Regions from separate parts of the Homo sapiens genome. Here all the other regions are linked to region 1. The links are contacts of gene promoters, found by promoter capture Hi-C in human tissues and cell types (Jung and others, 2019). All regions are on one chromosome and are shown on one strand. The core of a region is centred on a gene start or on the middle of the fragment in contact, and the rest is flanking DNA. Distances in the headings are between cores, read along the strand shown.

The links. Contacts are between HindIII fragments. The study calls those that stand out against the background at their distance.
Region 2: a contact is called between a fragment that was not itself captured here and the fragment with the promoter of ASAP1 in region 1, in 1 of the 25 tissues and cell types used here (IMR-90 fibroblasts).
Region 3: a contact is called between a fragment that was not itself captured here and the fragment with the promoter of ASAP1 in region 1, in 4 of the 25 tissues and cell types used here (IMR-90 fibroblasts, hippocampus, mesenchymal stem cells and 1 more).

Annotation. Positions count from the first base shown.
Region 1 is chr8:130,442,019-130,445,518 of GRCh38, forward strand. It overlaps ASAP1 (ArfGAP with SH3 domain, ankyrin repeat and PH domain 1), which reads right to left and starts at 1,656. Exons shown (of 30, transcript NM_018482.4): 1 at 1,442-1,656. RefSeq lists silencers at 1,211-1,290, 1,341-1,500, 1,511-1,600, 1,641-1,740. The HindIII fragment of the contact is 10,997 bases long and covers 126-3,500 here.
Region 2 is chr8:130,384,282-130,387,781 of GRCh38, forward strand. All of the region lies in intron 2 of ASAP1 (ArfGAP with SH3 domain, ankyrin repeat and PH domain 1), which reads right to left. Among named protein-coding and RNA genes, the nearest start is that of ASAP1, 58 kb to the right of the region's middle. The HindIII fragment of the contact is 6,426 bases long and covers 1-3,500 here.
Region 3 is chr8:130,401,755-130,405,254 of GRCh38, forward strand. ASAP1 (ArfGAP with SH3 domain, ankyrin repeat and PH domain 1) reads right to left here. Exons shown (of 30, transcript NM_018482.4): 2 at 131-216. The coding sequence starts at 189. Among named protein-coding and RNA genes, the nearest start is that of ASAP1, 40 kb to the right of the region's middle. The HindIII fragment of the contact is 4,629 bases long and covers 1-3,500 here.

The DNA of each region.
Region 1 (3,500 bases), core at 406-2,905:
CATTTTATACTTCAAATCCATTTGGTAGCTGAATCTCCAAATCCACTTAGTGGCGTTAGGTGATTTTTGTTTTTTTTAACTCCCTATCTCAAAATATGCAGTTTGAAATAAGTGCATATCTCAAAAATAGCAGCATTAACAGGACAGAAGAGAAGGCACTAAAGTGGTGAAGGCTGTGACGCAAAGAAGACGTTTCCAAATCTGTTTCATGGCTAACAGATCAAAATCTAACACAGAAGGGGCATGGGACTGAGCCTGAAGAAGTGGAAACTACTCCTGGCCATGTGATCTTGGGCAAGTCAGGTCACCTTTCTGGGCCTTCTCTGAAGGGGGTGAATCAGTTGTTCTCAAAGATCTTTTTCTTTCCAAACTGTTCACTGGGTGTTTCCAGAAGACCCGCATTTTCTTAAAGCTATCTGGCCGCGCTACAATTGCAAAACAGAAAGGCTTTGGGATGAAGGTTGCAATACAGATAACCCTGGCCTAAAAACTGATAAGCTTTTACAATCCCAAAACATTACTCAGCAATCCAGGTCCTGATGTCATCCCAGAATCAATCACGCCAAGATAACCTAACAGAGTAGACAGGGGAAAATGCGAGAGAAAGTTCTTTTGCTTTCCTGACGAGTACAGGTAAAGTTGAGGTCAAGTTAACGATGATGGTCTGCAGTTGACCATCCTTCTCCCTGAGCTACTGGAAAACCACATTATTAAAGGAAACTGCTTTAGAAGTGCCCAAGATGAACCTCTTGGGATGTATCAAACCGCAGAAAACCGGACACCGGCAAGTTTCTTTTTTCTTTGAAACTTCATGTCGCTCTCAGAAAACGCAGCAGGTCCCAAAATGGTACAAGCAGAAAACACAAGCCACTTCACGGTCCGCCCAGGAGCCAACCCCAAGCTCCAAGTAGGACTCCCCCCACCCCCTTCCCTTTCGTTTCTCTTCTTTTGCTTTAGGCAAGTGGCCTGGGGCCTGCCAAGCAGCGCCGGGTCCGGGTAGGGGCCGGGGGCCGCGGGGAACTTTCCTCGGCTGCACCAGAGACAATGCCGGGAGGGCGCCCCATCGGCGGGGTCCGGGCCGCCAAGCACGTCGTCCCGGGCCCTCCCCCGGAGGGGGACGCGAAACCCCCCAGGGCGGGCCCCGTCCCCGGCCCCACTGCAGGGGCCCCCTCTCCCGAGCTGGAGGCGAGGAGACCTCCCCCCCCCACCGGGCGGCCTCGCCCGGCCCCGCAGAGCCTGGCCGCGCGTCCCGCACACGCCCCAGCCCAGGGCCGGCGCCCTCCCCGCGGAGAAGGACACCCCGCTGCGAGAGGAGCCGGGAGCCCGCCCCGCGCCCCGTCCCGGCGCCCTTCTTCGCGCGAGAGACTGGGCAGGGGGCGCCCGCGACTGTGGGCGACTCCGCCCGGCCCCGCCGAGCGCGCCCGAGCGCCCCGCAACTCACCGGGACCTGGCGGGCCGCTGGGCATTATTCCATCGCGGGTTCGGCCGGGCGCTCGCGGCTCTCGGGTGGGAAAGCGAACTGCGACCGGGAAGCGCCGGCTGGGCGGGAGGCGCGGGCCCGGGGCTGCCCAGCGCACAGTGCTCGCCCGCGGCAGCGGCCAGGCCAGGCGAGGCGCGGGAGCCGAGCGCGGCGCAGGAAGGGGCGGGCGACCATGTGCCGAGGGGGAGGAGGCCGCGGCGACGCGAGCGGCTCGCACGATCCCGCTCGGCGGCGGAGGGCGCGGGTTTCAGGAAATCCAAACACTTCGACAGGAAATCGGAATCCTGACTAAGCATTCCCGGCCCCGAGCCGCTCCGCGCCGGGGGCTCCCGCCTCGCTTAACCCTTGGCCCGCCGGCAGCCACGAGGGGGGCGTGGGAGGGGCCCCAGACCTCGGCCGGGGTCGGGCGTCCTTCGCCTTCCGCCCCATGCCCCGGCCGGCCGGCCTCCTCCCCGCCTGAGGTGGAAGGGGTGGGATTTATCCACAGAAAACCCTGGACGCGGAAGGTGCCTTTCTAAGGCCGGGACAGCGGCAAAGGACGTGCCTGTCTTCCATCTGCAGAGGATGGACCTGCACTGTCCTGGCCGTTACCCCTATTTTCAGTAAAGGAATGATTTCACCAGGCTGCCCCCTTTCACCACTTCCTCTCTGCTCTTATAATTTTATTTTTGCCCAGTGCCAAGGGAACAGGACCTTCCCAGTCAGGATAGTATAGGAACAGTATGGAGAGTAATTGTGTGGGCTGCAGGCTCTGTGTCCGGTTGGAATATGGCCTTTTTTCTACTCATGTTACCTTGAGTAACTCGCTCAACTTTCCTGAGCCTCAGTTTCCATTTATGAAATGGATGTTAATTCCACCCTCATAGGTTTGATCTGGAAGCTGAATGTTTAGACAGGGACTGGCACATTGGAAACGCCCAAATAAATGATAGCCATGCTTGTCCTTATTATTACCATTAAAAGACATCAGAGAAAGGAGGATTTTAATTTGTGGGATGTATATTGTGCATATCTATGTCTACTTTCAAAGTCAGAGACAGTAGTCTTTCTTTAGAACTTAATTTCCCTCCTAATCATTGGGTGATTGTTTTTCTTTGCAGCATTTCAGAAACGGCTCTCTGCAGAGGAAATGGTTAGTGGCTGTGGCAGACCCCCTTCTGGTGAAATCCGAAACAGAAAACCTCACAAAATTTGGGATTTTGCTCCTAATCTGAGAGTCTGGGTGTAGTGGGGAGTGGGGGTTGTTAAACAGTCTGGAGCGGATTTACAAAGTTTGGGAAAACCAAAATCAATCTCTGACTGGGCAGAGAGGTCGGGCAGCCAATGAGTGATTCATTGTGGTTTCCCACGGAAATGCCACATTTCGGGGGTGTCTACCTGGAGGATGCAGCTTGGTGGTTTTGCTGTAAGTGTTTCAGATTCCTTTGAAACCCAATCAGACTTTGAAGAGGGAACAACATGCTCATGAGCGAAAACAGAAGCCTGAAATGAACCTGCTGGGAACTGAAAGTTGGGTACCAGCTCGTTTACTCCAAGTAAGGAACAGATACCAGTTTTAGACCCAGCATTGTTCCTTTTCTGCAATTCTCTCTCCGTGGCCAGAAGCAGTAGGACAGCTCTGAGCTGGGCACCAGGAGTCCCAGGGTCCTGCTCCAGGCCCACTGTAGCTGCCGTCCCCTCTGCCTGGAAGAACCCTTGTATGGCTGTTCTTGGCACGCAGCTCACAGCCCAGAAGTCAGCTCCGCAGATAGGTTTTCCCCAACCATGTGATCTGCTTGTCTCTGGCACCTACACCCCACCTCCACCTCTCCCAAACATAGCGCATCCTGTTTGATTGCTTCATAGCCCTTGTCACTGTTTAATGTAGCCTACATGATTGGTTGCTTATTTTTTATCTGCCCCCCACTCTCCCCACTGCATGGGTAAACTGCATTACAGCAGTACCTTTGCCTGTTTCCTTAGAACAGTGCTGGCCCATATGAGACCATCGATAAACACGTGTTGAATAAATGAAAGAAGC
Region 2 (3,500 bases), core at 601-3,100, 58 kb before region 1:
CTAGAAGGGGTTATTACACCTTTTCAGATGCAACATCAAAGCTGTCATTGCTATGTAATTTACAGCCTGGTCTGCATACAAGCATCCATTCTGTGTTAGTATGTGCCACCCTCCCCCTCTTCTTACTCAGAGAACCCCACTGCTGGGCAGGGGGCAGAAAGTGGGACATTGGGAGTCAGAAGACGTGGGATTCAGGGAGGATAGTGTGTTTTTTTCAGACGGAGTCTCACTTTGTCTCCCAAGCTGGAGTGCAATGGCGCTATCTTGGCTCACTGCAACCTCCCCCTCGCCGGTTCAAGTGATTCTTGAGCCTTGGCCTCCCGAGTAGCTGGGATTACACAGGCGCCCGCCACCATGCCCGGCTAATGTTTTGTATTTTTAGTAGAGATGGGGTTTCACCATGTTGCCCAGGCTGATCTTGAACTCCTGACCTCAGGTGATCCACTGATAGTGTCTTTTATTATCTGGGGAATGTTGGGCAAGTTACCCTGTCACACTTCACATCCCTCAATGACTCCCCATTGTCCTGTAATTTGTTCTTTCAACAAACATTTACTGACTGTCCACTACATCCTCCAAGCTATGCACTGTGGTGAGCAAGGCCGAGATGACCCCCGCCCTCCTGGAAGTTATAATCTAGTGAGAGAGGCAGAGACTGAACATAAATAAAAGCGAGACAGTGTCCCACGTACATACACACACCATGGCTCTATGGAGGCCGGGGCTTGAGGTCCAAATATTGTCTTTGATCTAACAGGATGAGCTTGAACAAGGAGCTACAAGAGGGGAATGGGAAACATCACCTCCTTCTACTACACAGACATGGCCTGGAGCAATCCCAGAGGCAGAAGGCACGTTGCTAGCTGGTGGTCGCTTGAGGTTCATTTAAAAGAGCCAAGGCAGGCCGGGTGTGGTGGCTCACGCCTGTAATCCCAGCAGTTTGGGAGGCTGAGGTGGGCGGATCACTTGAGGTCAGGAGTTCCAGACCAGCCTGGCCAACATGGTGAAACCCCGTCTCCACTAAAATAAATAAATAAATAAAATAGAGCCAAAGCAGAACAGAGACTTGAGTGTGTCTAATTCCCTCAGCCCCAGAGTTGGTGAATTAAGAGCCAACCGTGGGGCACCTTAGAGTTAGGGCGGGCCTTGTGAGGCCCAAAGCCTCCTCTCCATGGGGAGATGCTGGGTGCTAGAGATTCCTTTCCCAATTTTGTGGCTCAGCGCCCGAGGTGGGGGCGTGCCCAAGAGAGTCTCAGCTTTTCCGACCCGTTACATGGGGATGTTTTCTCAGTTACCAGGTGGGTAGGAATCTCAACTGGTCTCTGACTCTCTCAGAGGGAAGTGATTGGTGAATGGATGTTTATTTGGTGTGTCCACGAGTGGAGGGAGAGTCAGGAGCTTCTCTTCTGCCATGTTGCTGACATCACTCTCCCAACAGAGGCTCTTCAACAGCCCGCTAAGGAAGCTGATTCGAACTTGAGCTACTAACTCTCCCTACATCCAGTTACTTGGTTAGAGGGGTGGGCATTTGCGGTTTTACTTCCCGAGCACCCAGTACTCCTGCCGGTGAATGCATTTCAAATTCCCACTGGGGAGTCCCCCCACATCCTTTGGTTCCTGTGGGTCTCACTTTCAACCTCTCCCTGAAGTCTGGGAATGATCAGGTGACATGGGCTTGTCCAATCAGAATAGTCCATGGCCTTGTCCACAGTGACTGGTACAGGGCTGACCACGTGACCCAAGATAGACCAACGGGAATCAATCCAGAGATTTTGCAAAATCTTCTGGGAAGAAGAGCTCTCTACCTGGTGGGGTCTTTAAACCGGTGGCTTTAGGACCGATGCTTCTGGAAACCATACTTGGAGAACCTGAGAATACAGCCAGTGGAGGAGAAAGCACTAGAGAGGAAGGGGGCGAGAGATTCAGTGGTGATGCAGAGAAAAGGGAGAGACCAAATCTAGGAATCCAGTCATTTCTGGGGCCAGGTTTTACCCCTGGACTCCTCTCTTACCTAAGCCAGTACATTCCCTTCTTGCTTAAGGCAACCTGAATTGGGTTTCTATCACCCAAAACTAAAACTGTGCTGACCACGGAGGTAACACGTTCCATTGCCGAGTCCATAGCTTGAAGCTCTGCCTGCCCCCGCTCCCACACCCTGTCCTGATGAAAAAACACAGCTGGGCACAGCAAATTCAGACTGTGGCCTCAGCCCACAGGGCTGTCGACACAGGGCTAAGCGCTGCGCTCTCCACCCTGTAGATACACAATCGCCACGCGTCGCTTTACTGGTGAAAACTCCATTTCCAGTCTCCTCTTACCAAACTCACATTGTTTGGGAACTTCTGACAACTGTACCTCACTCTGCAGAAACAGTTAGAAGCGGACTCACCTCTGCCGTGGTCTGTGGCTCGGGAGTCTAACAGTCAATTATCTCGCTGCTGATGAAAAGGCAGGAGCGATGAAGACTTAGGGAGCTCACTGCAGCCAGTCGTGCTAATGACCTGTCTGCAGTAACTTTGTAAACCTCCACTTTTAGGTTCATGGCTCAGCCAAAAACTGTCACTCCACACTTCAGCTTGGCAAGCATGTTTGCACCGTGGAAGTGACGTCCTTGTTGCCGTGGTTACCAACGCTCAAGAAAACCTTTGTAGCTGTTTATAAGCACCAAACCCCAAATATTTGCAGAGAACCCCTTTCAGGAGCTTGTGGCACTATGGTGACTCACAAAAAGTTATCCCACGTTTTGTTCTTTATTTTCTTAAAAACAGAGAAAATTGTTCTCTCCTCAAATCTGTAAAATGCATTAGCTCACAGTTTCCATTTTAAACCGAAATCAAACCTGCTTTCATATGAATTGGGTATCCAAGGCTGCTGTTTTTCTTAAGAGAATCTCAGTAAATCCTAACACTCTGGATGACCCAGGAAGAAGAAATGTGAAAATGGAGACCAAGGCCCATTAAAAAACCCAGGTCCGGCGAAAGTGGTGGCTCACACCTGTAATCCCGGCATTTGGGGAGGCCGAGGTGGGCAGATCACTTGAGATCAGGAGTTTGAGACCAGGCTGGGTAACATGGCAAAACCTCGTCCCTACTCAAAATACAAAAATTAGCTGAGCATGGTGGCGCTCGCCTGTAATCCCACTTACTTGGGAGGCTGAGGCAGGAGAATCACTTGGACCCAGGAGGTGGAGGTTGCAATGAGCCAAGATTACACCACTGCACTCCAGCCTGGGTGACAGAGTGAGACTCCATCAAGAAAGAAAAAAAAAAAAAAGCACAGGTCCCAACCAATTTTTTAACTACTTGTATACATATATCAAAATTGTCTAATGTACCACTACACTCCAGCCTGGATGACAGAGCGAGACTCCATCTCAGAAAAAAAAAAAAAAAGCCCAAGTCCCAACCAACTTTTTAACCACTTGTATATATATATGAAAATTGTCTAGTCCATGAAAGGATTCTACAAATAACAGGCCTAGAATTGGTATTTTATGCTCA
Region 3 (3,500 bases), core at 310-2,809, 40 kb before region 1:
TCGTGCACACAGTCTCTGTTAGATTCCAGTGCTTGTGTTTGATAAAATTTTGCATTTCAACTCCCAAGAAGAATCCCGCTGTATCTCCCACGCCGAGTTTTCTGGACAGGATGGGCTAGAGATCACTCACCGATTCCATAGTGAATCTCTCGACGAAAAACTGGAGAGCCTGGAGGCTGAAGATCTCATGTCTCAGCCGTCACATCAGAAAACGACCTGGATAGGGGGCAGGACAAAAAGGGGACAAGAGTCATCCGGTGAAACTGGGCAGAAGACATTGTCTCAGACCAAGATCGGATTTCATATGGAGGCTGCACCTTTGTCAGGAATGTTCTTGCACCACAGAGTGGCTGTCCAGAAATATGAAGGAAACTACTATTTCAGCTTCCTATGGTGGGGCTGATACCTCCATCATTGAATCTCTGTGCAAGTAAGTGCTCAGGAATCCTTCTGGCATTCTATTTCTAGCTCTACGTTGGAGAGCAATTTACAAGTCATTAACTTCTCTAGACCTAGGCTCCTAAACATAAAATTAAAGTGTGCTGATGGATGCGACAGACAGACAGACAGACACCTGCAGCTGGGTGCCCACGAGAAAGCAAAAGTGTTCACCCGGCAAAGGAAACCAGTTGCAGGAAGAAGGCAGATATAGAAGAATATACATATTTCAGGACAGCCCCTCTGAACCTGGGAGAGGATTTTAATTAATTCATGCATACCAAAGCTTAATTAATTGCTGAGTGCACAGAGCACAGGAAGTCTGGGATAAAAGATGTTACATAAGGGAACAGCTTCAATATTTGCAGAATAGAGGGAAACAGAGGTGGGGATATAAAAATAAATTGAGCCAAGGGACCTCCTTGGCTTTTATCCAGTGATTCCTAGCTCAATGTGGCATCTCCATCCAGGGCGAAAAACCGAGAGACATCTCAGTTCCACCATCTCCCTCACCCCCATATCCAATCCATCCCCAATTCATGTCTACTTTACTTCCTAAAGATCTCTCCACTTATCTCTCCCCACCTCCACTGGTCCAGCTCTGGACCAAGCCTCCATCATTCTTACCTGGGCCACTGCAGCTGCCTCCTAACTGATCTCCCCTCATCACCATTTCTCCCTCTGAAATCTAGTCTTCCATGCTGAAAGCAGAATAATCTTTTGTGGGGTTTTTTTTTTTTTAATCTTTTATTACAGGGAATTGTGTACAGACATAAAAACAGAGAAGTGTATCATATACCCCCTGAACCCACCAGCCAGTCTAATCACATTAACCCATAATCATACCCACCACATCCAAACCCTCAACCTTCCTGCCCGTGCATTATTATTTTGAGGAAATTTCCAGTCATCTTATCATTTCAGTCATAAATATTACCGCATGGATTTCTAAGATAAGGTCTTTGGAAAAAAATAACACTGTAAAACCACTACCATACCTTAAAAAGATAGCAATAATTCCTTGATATCATCAAATATTCACACAGTGTTCAAATTCCTAATAGTCTCATAAATGTCAAAAATGGTGTCTTTAACAAGTGTTTTTTTTTAAAAAACCCAGATCCAAATAAGACTGACACTTAACAATTGAGTGATATGAAGAATACAATTTTGAAAACACAAATTTGATTGTGTCATCCCTCAACTCTCCACCACTAGCTTAACATCCCTCAACAGCTTCTCAGTGCTTTAGAATAAAAATCCAAATCACTGAACATGTTCTGACTCTTGTTCACCTCTCTGACCTTATCCTGTCTACCAGGCACAATGCTGTAGCCATAAGACATTTTCTTTTTCTTTTTCTTTTTTTTTTTTTTTTTGTGAGACAGTTTCACTCGTTGCCCAGACTGGAGTGCAGTGGCGCGATCTTGGCTCATTGCAACCTCCACCTCCTGGGTTCAATTGATTCTCCTCCCTCAGCCTCCCAAGTAGCTGGGATTACAGGTGTCCGCCACCACGCCCAGCTACTTTTTTGCATTTTTAGTAGAGACAGGGTTTCGCCATGTCGAGCAGGCTGGTCTCGAACTCCTGACCTCAGGTGATCTGCCCACCTTGGCCTCCCAAAGTGCTGGGATTACAGGTGTGAGCCTCTGTGCCCGGCCCATTGGACATTTTCTTAGATCCTGGAACATGCTGCAGTTGTTCCACCACAGGTCCTTTGCCCATGTTGTTCTCTCTGTCTGGAAGGCTTCCTCTCTCATCTTCAGTGCCTAGGTAACTCCTGTACTTCCTTAAATATTATATTCTCAGAGAAACTCTGCATCTTCAGATTAGATCATGGAATTTATCTCAGTTTTTAATTATGTTTCAACGTGAAGACTGATTAATATCTGCTAATTTTCTTCAATTGTAAGCCATGTGGATACAAAGATTGTGTTTGGATTTGTTTATTGGTGTATGTTGCAGCACCAACTCTACAATGCCCGGCACAACAATATTAATAAATATTTGTTGGATAAACGATCAAACCATTTCCTTCAAACTTAGATGCCAACAGCAATTGAATCTTCCTGAGCACTGAATCACAAATTTAAATTAGATGGGGAACTGACAAGCTTATCTTAAAATGCATATGGAAATGCAATGGACTCAGGATAGCCAAAACAATCTTGAAAATGAAGAACAATGTTGGACTTCTATTTCCTGACTTTGAAAGAAATCAGGACAGTGTGGTACTGGCATAAGGATAAACATATGCTATCCTTCAGAATCAAAGATCATGATCTTCCTATAATATTGACCTCCAGAACCCAACTTTACTAAGCACACGCTTATGAAAAATAAGTATCTGTTACTTGCATACATAGTCAATGCCTCTCCCAGCCTGCTCCTCAGTTTATTATTCTTTTGCTTTCCTTGCTTCACCCAAGTGGAGCAGCTGAGTTAGTATGGTAGACTGCATGAGTCTTCCCAGTTCACTTCCAACATGACTGTGAACTACACATTTCTGCCCTTTGTCATGGGACTTTGTAGTACTTCCCACTAGAGTGAATGGTGTTTACTTCCCTGTCCCACTGGATTCTGGACTGGATCACTGACTTGCTGTAGCCAATGGAATGTGGCTAGAAGTGACAGTGTGCTGTTCCCAAGTCTATTCCTCTTGCCCTCTTATGATGCACCACAAAAGGAATATGTCTCCATAGCCGCTGTCTGTTGCTGCCTTTTAGTCTGAACTCAGATCAAAGACATGTGGAGCAGATCCCAATCAACCACAAGTCCGGCATGAACCAGCCATGCAACTAGATCAGCCAAACCACAACCAACCCATAGATCCTTGAGCATGAAGATACATATCTGCTGTCAAACAAGCCTCTGAAATCCTGAGGTTTTTGCTACTCAGAAAAAACTGCCTAATTCACATGGGAATATTAATTTATGAACACCGAGTATCAATAAAGCCATGCACATAGACAGCACAAGTATGATGACCACTGACAGCTGTTCTTGCAGAATTCCCACCTCCTTGGTGCCAGTTGGACTCACACAACAATCCTGCAAGGGAG